Regions from separate parts of the Homo sapiens genome. Here region 2 is linked to region 1. The links are contacts of gene promoters, found by promoter capture Hi-C in human tissues and cell types (Jung and others, 2019). All regions are on one chromosome and are shown on one strand. Each heading gives the region's core, a stretch centred on a gene start or on the middle of the fragment in contact. The rest is flanking DNA. Distances are from core to core; before and after follow the strand shown. Region 1 holds the start of ZNF552 (zinc finger protein 552). Region 2 holds the start of ZNF837 (zinc finger protein 837).

Evidence for each region. Contacts are between HindIII fragments. The study calls those that stand out against the background at their distance.
Region 2: a contact is called between the fragment with the promoter of ZNF837 here and the fragment with the promoter of ZNF552 in region 1, in 1 of the 25 tissues and cell types used here (small bowel).

The regions. Positions count from the first base shown.
Region 1 is chr19:57,812,361-57,819,382 of GRCh38, reverse strand. ZNF552 (zinc finger protein 552) reads left to right here and starts at 4,470. Exons shown (of 3, transcript NM_024762.3): 1 at 4,470-4,672; 2 at 5,963-6,089. The coding sequence starts at 4,640. RefSeq lists an enhancer at 4,146-4,195. The HindIII fragment of the contact is 37,727 bases long and covers 1-7,022 here.
Region 2 is chr19:58,378,351-58,385,372 of GRCh38, reverse strand. ZNF837 (zinc finger protein 837) reads left to right here and starts at 4,343. Exons shown (of 3, transcript NM_138466.2): 1 at 4,343-4,432. LOC105372484 (a long non-coding RNA gene) reads right to left here. Exons shown (of 2, transcript XR_936130.2): 2 at 6,348-6,588. RefSeq lists a silencer at 4,082-4,591 and enhancers at 4,942-5,001, 4,536-5,077, 5,032-5,261, 5,078-5,619. The HindIII fragment of the contact is 47,170 bases long and covers 1-7,022 here.

The DNA.
Region 1 (7,022 bases), core at 3,221-5,720:
AAAAAAGTTAGCTGGGCGTGGTGGCGGGCGCCTATAGTCACAGCTACTCTGGAGGCTGAGGCTGGAGGAGAATGGCGTGAACCTCCTTGCAGTGAGCTGGGATCGCGCCACTGCCCTCCAGCCTGCGCGACAGAGCAAGACTCTGTCTCAAAAAAAAAAAAAAAAAAAAAAAAAAGGCGCCTTTCTAGGGCAGAGGAGGGGTCTCACCTAGCCTTAGAAGCCGTATTGAGATTCCTGGAGACTAGTGTCTGTAACTAATCACTCAAGAATTTGGAAAAATACTACTTCAGATTTCGGGGAGCTCAAGGTAAATAATAGGGAGCTCAAGCTGAAACTATTATTTAGGATTCTCCCAAAGGCTAAAAATCCAAATTACCACACCGTTTGAAACAGTCGTTCAGTCGCAAAATACCTGCACTGGAAGCAGAAGCTGATAAGCGTTGTTGTGTTATAATGTGTCTGAAGGCCCTCAGAAGCCTTAGAGTGCCTAAGGCAAATGAAGGAAGTTAGGGATGTGCTCCCCTACAGCAGGAGTGCAAAGCTGAATCTCTGTGATTCCTACAGAAAACAACTCTCCTGCTGATAGAATCTGTGAAAGGAAAATCTTGTGGCCTCAAAATTACTAAGCTAAAGGGAAAAGTCAATCTGGGAACTGCTCAGGGCAAACTTGCCTCCCATTCTATTCAGTCATTGCTCTCCTCACTGAGATAGGTGCATAGTCTGATTGCCTCCTTTGGAAACACTTATCAGAAACTAAAAAGAATCCAACTATTTGTCTCTCACCTACATGTGACCTGGAAGTCCCCTCCCTGCTTGGAGTTGTCCCCGCCTTTCTGGTCAGAACCGATGTAATTCTTACAAATATTCACTGATGTCTCATGCCCCCCTAAAATGTATTAAACCAGCCGGCGCGGTGGCTCAGGCCTGTAATCCCAGCACTTTGGCAGGCGGAGGTGGGCAGATCATGAGGTCAGGAGATCCAGACCGTCCTGGCTAACAGGGTGAAACCCCGTCTCTGGTAAAAATACAAAAAAAAATTAGCCATCCTGGTGGTGGGCGCCTGTAGTCCCAGCTACTAGAGAGGCTGAGGCAGGAGAATGGCATGAGCCCAGAAGTCGGAGCTTTCAGTGAGCAGAGATCGCGCTACTCCACTCCAGCATGGTCGACAGAGCAAGACTCCGTCTCAAACAAAACAAAACAAAACATACAATCTGTGCCCCAACCACCTTGGGCACGTGCCGTCAGGACTTCCTGAAGCTGTGTCACGGGCATGCATCCTCACCTTTGGCAAAATAAACTTTTTTTTTTTTTTAGATTGAGTCTCCCTCAGTCGCCAGGCTGAAGTGCAGTGGCGAGATCTTGGCTCACTGCAACCTCCGTCTCCCAGGTTCAATCGATTTTCCTGCCTTAGCCTCCCGAGTAACTGGGCCTACAAGCGCGCAGCACCTTGCCCAGCTAATTATTATATTTTTAGTGGTTTCACCTTGTTGGCCAGGATGGTCTCAATCTCTTGACCTCGTGATCCGCCTGCCTCGGCCTCCCAAAATGCTGGGATTACAGGAGTCAGCCACTACGCCTGGCCGGCAAAATAAATTTTTCAAATGAACTGAGACCTGTCTCACATTTGGGGGGTTCACAAATCAATTGTAGCATTCAATTAATTGCACCACACTTTTACCCACTTAGTATCCTTTACTTGATATTCTAACTTATATTCAACTCCTTTTAGGAATTTGAAGTCAGTTTTATATATATAAACAACAATAAAGGATTTGGTAGCTTGATAGTGGTAATAGCTACAGTCCTTAAAGGTAGTGCTCTCCATCTGGTCATACTGGGCATTTGTTAAATCCATGAGTTCATGTCATTGATGGGAAGTGATTATCATTGATTTATCTTAAGAGAGCAGGGAGTGTTCTGCATGAAAAATTAAAATTACATGAGAGAAACAGTTGTAAAATGCAAGATACGAAAGCCTATTAATACTGACTAGATAGGCCAGGCATGGTGGCTCATGCCTGTAATCTCAGCATTTTGGGAGGCCGAGGCGGGTGGATCACCAGGTGAGGAGTTTGAGACCACCCTGGCCAATATGGTGACACCTCGTCTCTACTAAAAGTACAAAATTAGTTGGGCGTGGCGGCACGCACCTGTCATCCCAACTACTCAGGAGGCTGAGGCAGAAGAATCACTTGAACCCAGGAGGCAGAGGTTACAGTGAGCCAAGATTGAGCCGTTGCACTGTAGCCTGGGCGACAGAGCGAGACTCTGTGTGAAAAAAAAAAACAAAAAACACTGACTAGGTAATTATTCAACAGTTCTGACAGAAGTAGTTCTGAGGAAACATCAGTAGATGGTGAAAAAACTTAGGGCCTCAGAGAAATGTTAGCACTGATGTCTAAGAGATGGAATTATGCTCAGCACATAATTGGAATGGTCACTCTGATGGTTTTGGCTTCAAAATGAGATTCTTCTTTTTTTTTTTTTTTTTTTTTTTGAGGTGGAGTCTCACTCTGTCGCTGTATAAAATGGACCAATCAGCAGGATGTGGGTGGGGTCAAATAAGGGAATAAAAGCTGGCCAGCCAGTAGCAGCAACCCGCCCAGGTCCCCTTCCACACTGTGGAAACTTTGTTCTTTCGCTCTTCGCAATAAATCTTGCTGTTGCTCACTCTTTGGGCCCGCACTGCCTTTATGAGCTGTAACACTCACCGCGAAGGTCTGCCACTTCACTCCTGAAGCCAGCGAGACCACGAACCCACCAGAAGGAAGAAACTCTAGACACATCTGAACACCTGAAGGAACAAACTCCAGACATACCATCTTTAAGAACTTTAACACTGCCCGTGAGGGTCTGCGGCTTCATTCTTGAAGTCAGCGAGACCAAGAACCCACCGGAAGGAACCAATTCTGGACACAATACCTTTCAAACAAGGGACCTGTCCAGGCTTCCTTCTGATGACCAACCCACCTCTAATGCTGGCCAGTCTATTTCACACAAAGTTCTAAGTTTTCCTGGTGTCATAGTAACACTGTAATCTCCCTTAAATCCTTTCTTGAAATGTTTCAACATAGTTCCTAGTGAAGTGGGCTTACTTTGTGCCTGACCCATGCTTCTTTGAGACAAAACACCACGCTCACACCACACGCACACCACAAAACAAAGAACAGGTAAAAAGGGCACACATACACTTTTACCGTTTACACCAAACCAGAATCAAAATCCAAATCAGAGTATCCAGAAATCCAAGCCAGGTCAAAACCAAAACGAAAGTATCAAGCAATCCAAATCAAGTCAAAAACAAAAACCAAAGTGCCGGTACAGGCATGCCGTGGGTGATCAGGCCACCCTTCCACTCAAATGGAGTGGGCAAGTTCCAAAGACTAGTCTTACCAAGTTTCAGATGTCCGGACTCCAAGTGCCTGTTCCTTCCCAGTGTTCAGCCGCTGCATTGATCCTCTGTGGGGGCCTGCCACACGCCACTCTGGCGAGGTGTTCCACTGGGGCAATTGCCTACCCGGGAGTGCTCTCAGGTTCTGCGTCCCTCAAGCTGGCCAGAGTCCCCTGTAGGGATGCTCCACAGGGCAGGCCTAAGCTGCCTAAGGGGCTGCCTCGACTATCTGTTAATCACCTGGCTTCCCAGTCAGGGAACCAAGAAATGTAGCAGGACAAGCCGCAGGGCTGTATTCAGCCTGGAGCTTTGGCAAGACTCACATCTCCAACTACCAAGCTCCCCAAGTGAGGAATTCCTGTCCCTTTTAAGGGCTTACAACTCTAAGGGGGTCCACATGAGAGGTTTGTGATCGATTGAGCAAGCAGGGGGTACACGACTGGGGGCTGCATGCAGTGGTAATCAGAACGGAACAGAACAGGACAGGGATTTTCACAATGCTTTTCCATACAATGTCTGGAATCCATAGATAACATAACCGGTTTGGTCAGGGGTCGATCTTTAACCAGGCCCAGGGTTGGCACCTGGCTGTCTGCCTGTGGATTTCATTTCTGCCTTTTAGTTTTTACTTGTTTCTTTGGAGGCAGAAATTGGGCATAAAACAATATGAGAGGTGGTCTCCTCCCTTAACAGCACAAACGCTTAATTAACATTTCTTTTTCTTTTGAGACAGGTTCTGTCGCCCAGGCTGGAGTGCAGTGGTGCAGTCATAGCTCAGTGCAGCCTGGACCACCTGGGCTCAAGCAGTCCTGACACCTCAGCCTCTCAAAATTTGGGATTACAGGCGCGCGCCACCGTGCGGGTCAGGAGGCTTCCCTGAGGGCCCCGGAGGTGGAGCTGGGCTTTTCCTTCCGAAGCGCCCCTGGGAATCTCTCTCTTTACGGCCTTGGAACCTGGGAAACTACATTACCCAGAAAGCTCTGCGTCAAATGACAGCACGGCAGAGCCAGTGAGAGTTCACATTGAAGGCGTTTCCGTGTGCGCAAGTAAGGTAGAGGCGGGACTCCCGGCGCCCTTTAGTAGCGACCATTTCCATTGGCGTTAGGGAGTCCTTGGAGCGCTGTGTTGGGACCGTGGTGGTGACTGGATCCAGGAGGTCGAGAGTCGTTCTTCTCTTTGCACAGACGTGACTCTGCAGCTCTTTAACGGCGCCCGCTGCTCTCAACCCAGCTTACCCCACGTGGTCCCATGGCGGCGGCCGCGCTAAGGTTCCCCGTTCAGGTAATTGTGGCGCCTTCCGTGCTCTCCGGTCACCTCCTAGTCACACAAGTCCTAAAGCAGCGAGGGAGCGGCACCTGTTTACGGCTCTGCAACCCGGACCCGGCGTCGGGACACTGAGGCGCTCTCGGGAGGGATCCCTGTTTCAGACACCCGTGGGATGCGGTGGGGAGAGCGACAGGTACAGGGAGGGGCGCGGGCAATGGCCTGGAGATGGACGGATCCGGGAGGATGGAACCTGGGGTCCACAGGCGCCTGTAGGGAACAACCTGTGAGGCGGAACTCCTCCTGGAAAAGCAAGGAGGCTGGGGGCTGTGAAATCATTGCGAGGACACTAGAAATAGGAGAATTTCCAAGAAAGAAGGGACTGGATCAAAGTCCAGGCTTTTAAAGTTTCCTAAAGGCCAAATAAATAACAGAGTAGAGAGGGGATGACGTTGGGGCCCTTTGAGATTGAATCCTTGTAGATCATATAGGTGGTAGAGATGACACTTTGTGCTGAGACACGCAGGTTAGACAATAGTCCAAGGTCACCTGGCTCCGTGGACACAAAAGCGTTCAGGGAGGCCTGAGCTTACCAGATCCTATCAGGGACACAGTCCTGTAAAGTCAGCCTCTTCCCTCAGGCCTTTATGGCTGTAGAAGCATTTAAGGAACGCATACAAGAAAGTGGAGGGTGGGGCCGGGTGCAGTGGCTCACTCCTGTAATCCCAGCACTTTGGGAGGCCTAGGCGGGTTGGTCCGGAGGTAGAGACCAGCCTGACCAACCATGGAGAAACCCTGTCTCTACTAAAAATACAAAATTAGCCAGGCGTGGTGGCGCATGCCTGTAATCCCAGCTACTTGGGAAACTGAGGCAGCAGACTCGCTTGAACCCGGGAGGCGGAGGTTGCGTGAGCCGAGATCGCGCCATTGCACTCCACCCTGGGTGACAGAGCGAGACTCCGTATCAAAAAAAAAAAAAAAAAAAAAAAAAAAAGAATGAGGTGCGTTCAGAGAGGGTATCTCTGCTGTGCTGAAGGTGCCACATTGGGCTTTCCATGACCTCGGCCATACTAGGGGAAGTGCCTGTCAGGAGGGGGTGGACTCTTATATCACAGCCACCGCACAGATACCTATTTGTTCAACTAACTATTGTTGTTGGTGGCTGTACCCCATGACCAGTGGGCCTAGTTTCTCCTATGTTTGAGGACCTTGAGAGGAGGATGTGCGAGAGTAGATGTGTGGGAGAGATGGATTGTGATACCTCAGCATAGGGGTGGTTTGTGGTTTCATCTGTCAACATCATAACAGGGCACAGTGACTTTTGAAGACGTGGCTGTGAAATTTACCCAGGAGGAATGGAATCTCCTTAGTGAGGCTCAGAGATGCCTGTACCGTGATGTGACGCTGGAGAACCTGGCACTTATGTCCTCCCTGGGTAAGTTGCCCACACTCACCCCTGTGACCTGAGCTAGTCTCTGTCTTTCCCCCTCTTTTTCTATTGGCAAGACTTTCTCATGTCAGGAGCATGGACACAGCTTCCTACTTCAGTTCTTGGTTGGTAGGACTGAGGTATGCATACTGCCCTCTCCATTCTTGGAGCAGCCCCAACACCTGCTATTGAGCTCCCAGGGAAGAATTCAGAGTCAGAAGTCTTACAGGCAACTTAATGCAGGCTACCTTGTTTGTCCTGTGGATGTTTGTGTGATTTCATCCAGATTTCAGGTTCGGGATCTAATTCATTCCTCTACCTGTTATTTCTTCATGCCTCCCTGTGCCAGGAATTGTCTTCATTGACATTGTCACTGCCTACATAGACTATAGACTGTTCTTGTAATACCGTCCTTAGAAATTCTCTTCATAGGTCTGGTGCAGTGGCTCATGCCTATAATTTCTGCACTCAGGGAGGCCAAGGTAGGTGGATTACTTGAGGCCAGGAGTTCGAGAACAGCCTGGCCGACATGGTGAAACCCCATCTCTACTGAAAATATAAAAATTAGCCAGGTGTGGTGGCACACGCTTTTAATCCTGGCTACTTGGGAGGCTAAGGTGGGAGGATAGCTTGAACCCAGGAGGCAGGGGTTGCAGTGAGCTGAGATTGTGCCACTGCGCTCCAGCCTGAGCAACAGAGCAAGACTCCGTCTCAAAAAACAGAAATTCTTTTTGTAATATTGTTTCCTGTCTGCTGTCATGTGCTGAGTTGTTCTAAGCCAGTGTTGGCTGTTTCCTTGTTCTGTCTTTCCCTTTGTTCTTACATCATGTATGTCTCATGTACTTGGTTATCTTGGTGGTGGGATCATCTTCTGTGGTCAGAAGATGCAAATGAATCTGGCCTCAGCATTATGGGTTCTGAGTCCCTGAAAAATAGCAT
Region 2 (7,022 bases), core at 3,094-5,593, 570 kb before region 1:
TGGGCTTCTCCCTGGTCTTGAGTGAGGGGCATGGGGGTGCTGGTTGTAGGGAGGGTGGGAGAAAACAGGCAGCACTCATCAGGACAGTGAGCCCACCCCTCTGAACCTGTTTTCCCCTTCAGTGTGGAAATGAGAATGCAATGAGGCAACGTCAATGTGAACCCTGTGGCCTGGCTACCATGGTCATTTGATAATGGACATCTTTACAGACCTCATGAGAATGACTCATCGTGCTGCAGAGGGCAGGTGCCCTCAAGTGTGGCGTGGTGAATACTGCAGAGCCGAGACTCATGCACCCCCCACCCCCGCCACCAGGTCCAGGGTGGTCCAGCCTCCCCAGGTCCCCAAGGTGCTACGATAAGATGCAGAGTCTGACCTCATAGATCTAGGGCTGCTGGTGCTGTGTTCTTCAGACTGGATGAGGACCCCAGAGACTCTGCAGAGATCTACCTCACTTCTGGTACATTGTGTCCATCCTGAGTGGCCGGCCCCAGACTGGACTCCTCACTTCTGGGAAGGCACCCTCTGGGCCCTGCTGGGCCACCTGCCCACTCTCCAGGCAGTCACTTTGCCTGTCCACCCTACCAGCCACAGTCTTACTGTTAGCTGATCTTACATCCTTGTGATGGCTCCTTTTTTTTTTTTGTGACGGAGTCTCACTCTGTTGCCCAGGCTGGAGTGCAGTGGCGCAATCTTGGCTCACTGCAAGCTCCGCCTCCTGGGTTCATGCCATTCTCCTGCCTCAGCCTCCCGAGTAGCTGGGACTACAGGCGCCCGCCACCACGCCCGGCTATTTTTTTTGTATTTTTAGTAGAGATGGGGTTTCACTGTTAGCCAGGATGGTCTCGATCTCCTAACCTCGTGATCCGCCTGCCTCGGCCTCCCAAAGTGCTGGGATTACAGGTGTGAGCCACCGCACCTGGCCGTGATAGCTCCTTAATGCCTTTACTGGCACCTTGGTTGTCTGTTGAAGTCCCCAGCCTGATTATCAACTCGTTTGGAGTGTGCTGGATTCAGTCCACCCAGTTGCCTGGCAGAGCCAAGCCTGGCCCTGCCGCATCCCAAACTTGATCTTGTGCCCATGGCTGATACTTCATGGGCTACTTTGGCCTAGCCACTGTCTGCTTCTATGGGATGCCCACCTGTAATGGATTGAATGGTGGCCCCCAAAAAGGTAAGTTCATGCCCTAATACCCAGACCCAGCGAATGTGACCTATTGGAAAAAAATCTTTGCAGATGTAATTTAGTCAAGGATCCCAAGATGAGAGCATCTAGGATTAGTAGGGTGGACCCTAAATCCAATGACAAGTGTCCTTATAAGAGACAGAAGAGGGCCGGGCATGGTGGCTCATGCCTGTAATCCCAGCACTTTGGGAGGCCGAGGCGGGCACATCACGAGGTCAGGAGATCGAGACCATCTTGGCTAACACAGTGAAACCCCATCTCTACTAAAAATACAAAAAAATTAGCCAGGCGTGGTGGCGGGCGCTTGTAGTCTCAGCTACTCGGGAGGCTGAAGCAAGAGAATCACTTGAACCTGGGCGGTGGAGGTTGCAGTGAGCCAAGATCGCACCACTTCACTCCAGCCTGGGTGACAGAATGGGACTCCGTCTCACACACACACACACACAAAGATTCTTAAGGAAATGTGGCCGAGTCATCCAGGATGCTTCAGCCACTGGGGTTTGCTTTCGTGGCTCACCAGCACCTTCTCCCCTCCTGGGAACTGCCAACTTCCATTTCTCCTCTGTTCTTCCAGATCCTACAACCAGGATTCTGTGTTGGGGGCCAAGATGCCCTGCTGAAGCCTCTATTCCCTGAGGCTGCTTCGCAGTAAGCTACCCCAGGCCCTCAGGAGAGGTGTGAAATGGAGCAGAGGCCCTTTGCTGAAGACAGCATAGAGCCAGAGGGGGACCTCTGCGGAGGGATGGCCGGTAGCAGGACAACTCTCCTGGGTGCAGGGTCCCAGGCCTACAGACATAGAATGAGCCCCAGACTGGGGACCTGTGGGATTGGTAAAGTTGGACCCCTTGGGTGGGAGCCCCACTGGAGCTTCCTCTCCAGGTCCTTGCCTGATTCAGTCTCATTCCTGAAATCGCTCCTGTGTAACCATTGTCACAAGATGCTTCTCTGGTGCTGCCCCTGCATGAACCCTGCAGGGTCCACTTAGACAACAGGCTTGTGTAGAAGTGAAGAAAGCCTACAGACTGTCACAGCCCCCATAGCCGGTCCCCTCCAGACAAGTCCCCCGCACCTGTGCCTGCCAAGTGGTTAGGCCTTTCATTGGTGCTTCAAACTCCACTCCAGGGCTGCCAGTCACCCCATGCCAGCCCTGCAGGGACAAGGCCTTTGTGTGGTGGCCAGGCCTGTGGTACCACCAGAATCTTCACTCCAGAGGGAGGCCCTTTCTGTGCCTGGGAGTGGGAAGTTCTTCCACATAGGCTCAAGACTCCTCCAGTAGCAGTGCATCCACAGGTGTGAGAAATCCTACTTGTGTCAGGCCGGGTGCAGTGGCTCATGCCTGAATCCCAGCACTTTGTGAGGCCGAGGCGGGTGGATCATGAGGTCAGGAATTCAAGACCAGCCTGGCCAAGATGGTGAAACCCCATCTCTACTAAAAATACAAAAATTAGCCGGGCGAGGTCGTGGGCACCTATAATCCCAGCTACTCGGGAGGCTGAGGCAGAGAACTGCTTGAACCTGGGAGGCGGAAGTTGCAGTGAGCTGAGATCGCGGCCACTGCACTCCAGCCTGGGCAACAGAGCAAGACTGTCTCAAAAAAGAAAAAAAAAAAGAAATCCCACTTGTGTCCCAATTGGGGCCAGTGGCTGAACCTGTCAGACATCTGCACACCCACACAGAGCCAGCAGCTGCACTCCTTTCTCTGTGACAATTGTCAAGGCCTTCCTGTGCAACTCTCTTCAGCCACCAAGGGACCCACAAGGCGGGCAGCCCTCCAAGTGCCCTTCAGCCTCCTGCTCGCCCTCAATTAGCTTGGTAAGCCCTGAGTTTTGTACTTGGGCAGGGAGATAGACCTCCTGACAAGGCTTTCGATGTGCAGACACCCAAAGGATGGAGAAAGGGAGTGGAACAGTCCCAGCATCCCTGAAGCAGATGCAGTGGAGGCAGAAAGGTGGGGCAAACTGGGTCGTTACATGCAATATATGTGCTGGACTGGCCAACAAAATTAGATGTCCCTATTGAGGGCAGGAGCCACACAATAGATGGGGGCAAGAGCTGGGGGTTACAAATGGGTAGGAGGCGTGACCAGTTCATCCTACCTGGGAGGGCCCGTAGAGTCAGCAACACCCAAAGGGGCTGGGGAGGCTGTGGTTCCCCAATGGGGCCGCACGTGTTAGAATCAACTAGGAGCCGGACTAGGGGCCTGGCGCAGTGGCTCAAGCCTGTACTCCCAGCACTCTGGAAGGCTGAGACACGAGGATCGCTTGAGCCCAGGAGTTCCAGACCAGTCTGGGCAACATATGGAGACCCTATCTCTAAAATAAATAAATAAATAAAAATAAAAAAACTATCCAGGCATGGTGGCTCCCACCTATAGTCCCAGCTATTCGGGAGGGTGAGGTGGGAGGGTCGCTTCAGTACAGGAGTTCGAGACCAGCCTGGGCGACATAGTGGGAGGAGGAAGGGAGGGGGAGAAGGAGGGGGAGGGAGAGAAGAAAGAAAATTAGCCGGGCGTGGTGGCGCGCGCCCCTGTTAACAGCTACTCTGGAGGCTGAAGTAGGAGGATCGCTTGAGCTCAGGAGGTCGAGGCTGCAGTGAACCGTGATGGTGTCACTGCATTAGCCTGGGCGACAGAGCGAGACCCCGTCTCAAAAAAGCAAACCAAAAAAAATACAAAAAAATAGACTTAACTGAGGAGTTTTGACGCGCATATGCTCGGGCCCAGTCCCAGATTCTGATGTTATCGGTCTGACTCGCAACGCGCTCACCAAGACACTTCAGAGCTCCCCAGGTGCTTCCCAGCCCAACTCTCCCACCCGAGGGGAGCCTGCGAACCGCAAGTCGGTTCCGGGTTGGGACCTCTTAGAAATCAGATTGGGAGAGGAGGCTATCAATCATAATCATGACCAGTCACCCGCTTTCACGAGAAGGAATGGGCGGGACCCTACGTCCCCGTCCAGAACGCCGTTTCTTTGGCGACGACTTAGGTCCACGCCCCGCCTTTTAGGTGTAGCCGGCCTCTGTTTCTATGATAACCGAAGCCCAAGCCTCTCCCTACACCGCTTTCTCCGCAGCGTCAAAGCGGGACATGACGGGACTACGTTTCCCAGCAGTCCCCGCGCGGGTTCCCGCCTGCGCTTGCTGTGGCCCGGGTCCCTCAGTGCCGCGGCGGCCCGGAGGTGGCGGGAGGACGGCTCCGCGCTGCATGCGGGGCGGGGACCAGGGACCCGTGCGGGCCGCCTCCAGAGAGTAAGTGGCATTCTGCGCGGACCCGCAACCTCGGCCTGCGAGGCGGGGACCTCCCGGCGCATAGCGCGGCCACCACCCCAGTCCCCTCTCCACCTCCGCGCGCGGGGTCCGGGGCAGAGGCGTGACGCCGCGCACTTCCGGTCCTCGCGCTCCGGGTCCGGACCGGCCACACAGCACTCGCGACCTTGAGTTCCGGGCGGGACGGGCTTCTGTAGTTCTGGCCCCCGCGTTTCCGTGCTGGGTGTCATTGAAGCCCGCGAGGGGAGGCTCCAGGCCCGGGACCCATCCTGGCGGCCTGCGGCTCTCGGAGTCAAGCCCACCTGCTAGCCGAGGCCGACGCCGGCCTCCCTACCGTCTCTGCCCCCGCATCCTGGCCTTTGCACTTTGCTCTTTCCTTGTCTGCAGACCGGTTTCATGCCCCCTCTTCACAGAGGCCCGAAGAATCCGCTGCCTCCCTCCCTGGCGCCCTCGCGCTGCTCCCTGTCTGATGTTCTTCACGTCTTTTTCTCTCTTAAACGGTCTCTTGTTCATTTCTTCTTGTCTGCGGTCCCCTCCTTCACTCACTATTAGAGCAGGATGCAGCACCGTTTGGCCCTGACACAGTGGATGTCCTGCGAGGGTTGAAGCTTGCTAATCCTTGAGGGTGGAGGCACTGTCGGGAGGACAGACACAGAAGGGAGCTGTGCCTGCACTCAGAGGACATTTCTTCTGCTGTACAGTGCATGATGCACTGTTCTTCCCATTGCGTGCACAGTGTAGAATTGGACATAGGGGCTAGAGTCTGTGTCCCCTGGGACTGTCAGTGTGGGTGAGGTTGGTCTGTGGCTCAGAGAGGTGGAGCCACGCTGAGCTGGGCACTAGCCTGTGTCCTCCACACCTCAGAGCCACCAACGTTGACTTCCCTGCACATTCTGTTTTTGTTGTTGTTGTTGTTGTTGTTGTTTTGAGACGGAGTTTCGCTCTTGTTGCCCAGGCTGGAGTGCAGTGGCGCGATCTCGGCTCACTGCAACCTCCGCCTCCCGGGTTCAAGCGATTCTCCAGCCTCAGCCTCCCGAGTAGCTGGGATTACAGGCATGCACCACCGTGCCTGGCGACTTCCCTGCACATTCTCTTGGGCAAATAAGACCTCATTGTGCCGTGTGCAACCTCCATGAGGATGTTGAACCTCACTAGCTTTCCTGTGTGTGCTGTTGCTCTGCAGTTCTGCAGGGCTCAGCCTTGGCCACGTTAACCTCTCAGTCCCCCTAAATTGGTAACTCTGCATCCTGTTCCCAACACCAGAAGCCCTAAGGACAACTAGAAAGGCTGGGCGAGCACCCAGGTGCAAGCATGCTCACCTGGGGCAGGTGGGAGGTCACTGTAAGAACAGCCTGGGAGAGCTGTAATGCACCATCAAGGACGGGCTCCTGGGACCTGGGACCCAGAGCCTCGATTGTGTTTGCTGTGCTCAGCCTCAGATCATGGGTCCATGGCTGGAATGCCACCCACCTACAGGTGGGATAGTTGGACAGTGCATCCTGGGAGCAGATCAAGGAGACGAAGAGACTCGGCCATGGTCCACAGCTCCCACCTGCTGTGTCTGGTGCTGGGAGGCAGGTTCTTGTTGCAGCAGAGGAGCCACCCCTGGGAGCAGGGCATCTGGGGACCAATCCGAAGATGCTGTTAGCACATGGCTAGCAGGTGCCCCTCAGCCCCCACCTCCCACAAGTTCAGGGTCCCTTTCTGCCAAGTGGGGACTGCTGGTTCTTCAGGACAACCCAGCTTCCCCAACCCTCTGTTCAGACACTAAGCAGTCCTCTGACTCCCCATCACTAGGGATCAGGAGAGCCCCTTACAACACACACATTCTGTCGAGGGTGCTAGACCAGTCTCTATTAGTTTCTGTGGCTGCTATAACACACTACCACAAACTGGGCAGTTTAAAACAACAGAAATTTACTCTCACAGTCCTGGAAGCCAGAAGTCTGAAATCAAGGTGTCAGCAGTACTGTGCTCTCTGACGGCTCTGGGTGGGGGTCTTTCCTTGCCTCTTCCGGCTTCTGGCGGCTCCGGGTGTTCCTTGGAGTGTGGCTGCATCACTCCAATATCAGCCTCCATCTTCACATGGACCACTCTTCTCCGTGTCAGAACTCCCTTTGCCTCCTTCATAAGGACACCTGTCATTGGAATTAGGGCACACCCAGGTTATTCAGGGTGATCTCATCACAAGATCCTTAATTATGTCTGCAAAGACCTAATAAGGTCACATTCTGAGAGTTCCGGGGTTAGGACATTGGATATATCTTTTGCAGCCTCCTTCAGTGGAACCTGCCTGATCCTGGGTGACCTCATGTGCCCATCCATTCTTGGGCCTGTCCACTGATTCCATGGTGATCAATTGTCCCTGTTTGGCCAGGCTGTCCCAGGTATGGTCTTTCACCCTGGGAAGTCCTCAGCCCCTAAGTCCCTAGAGTTCTAGGAAGTCATGCTGAGTGCTGGTCCTAGCCCTGCTCATGCCACCAGCTGTTGTACAGACTGTGACATGAAGCCAGCAGCCTTGGAGCTAATAGCAAGGCAGGTGCCCAAGTCCCTCCATCCCTGACATCTGGGT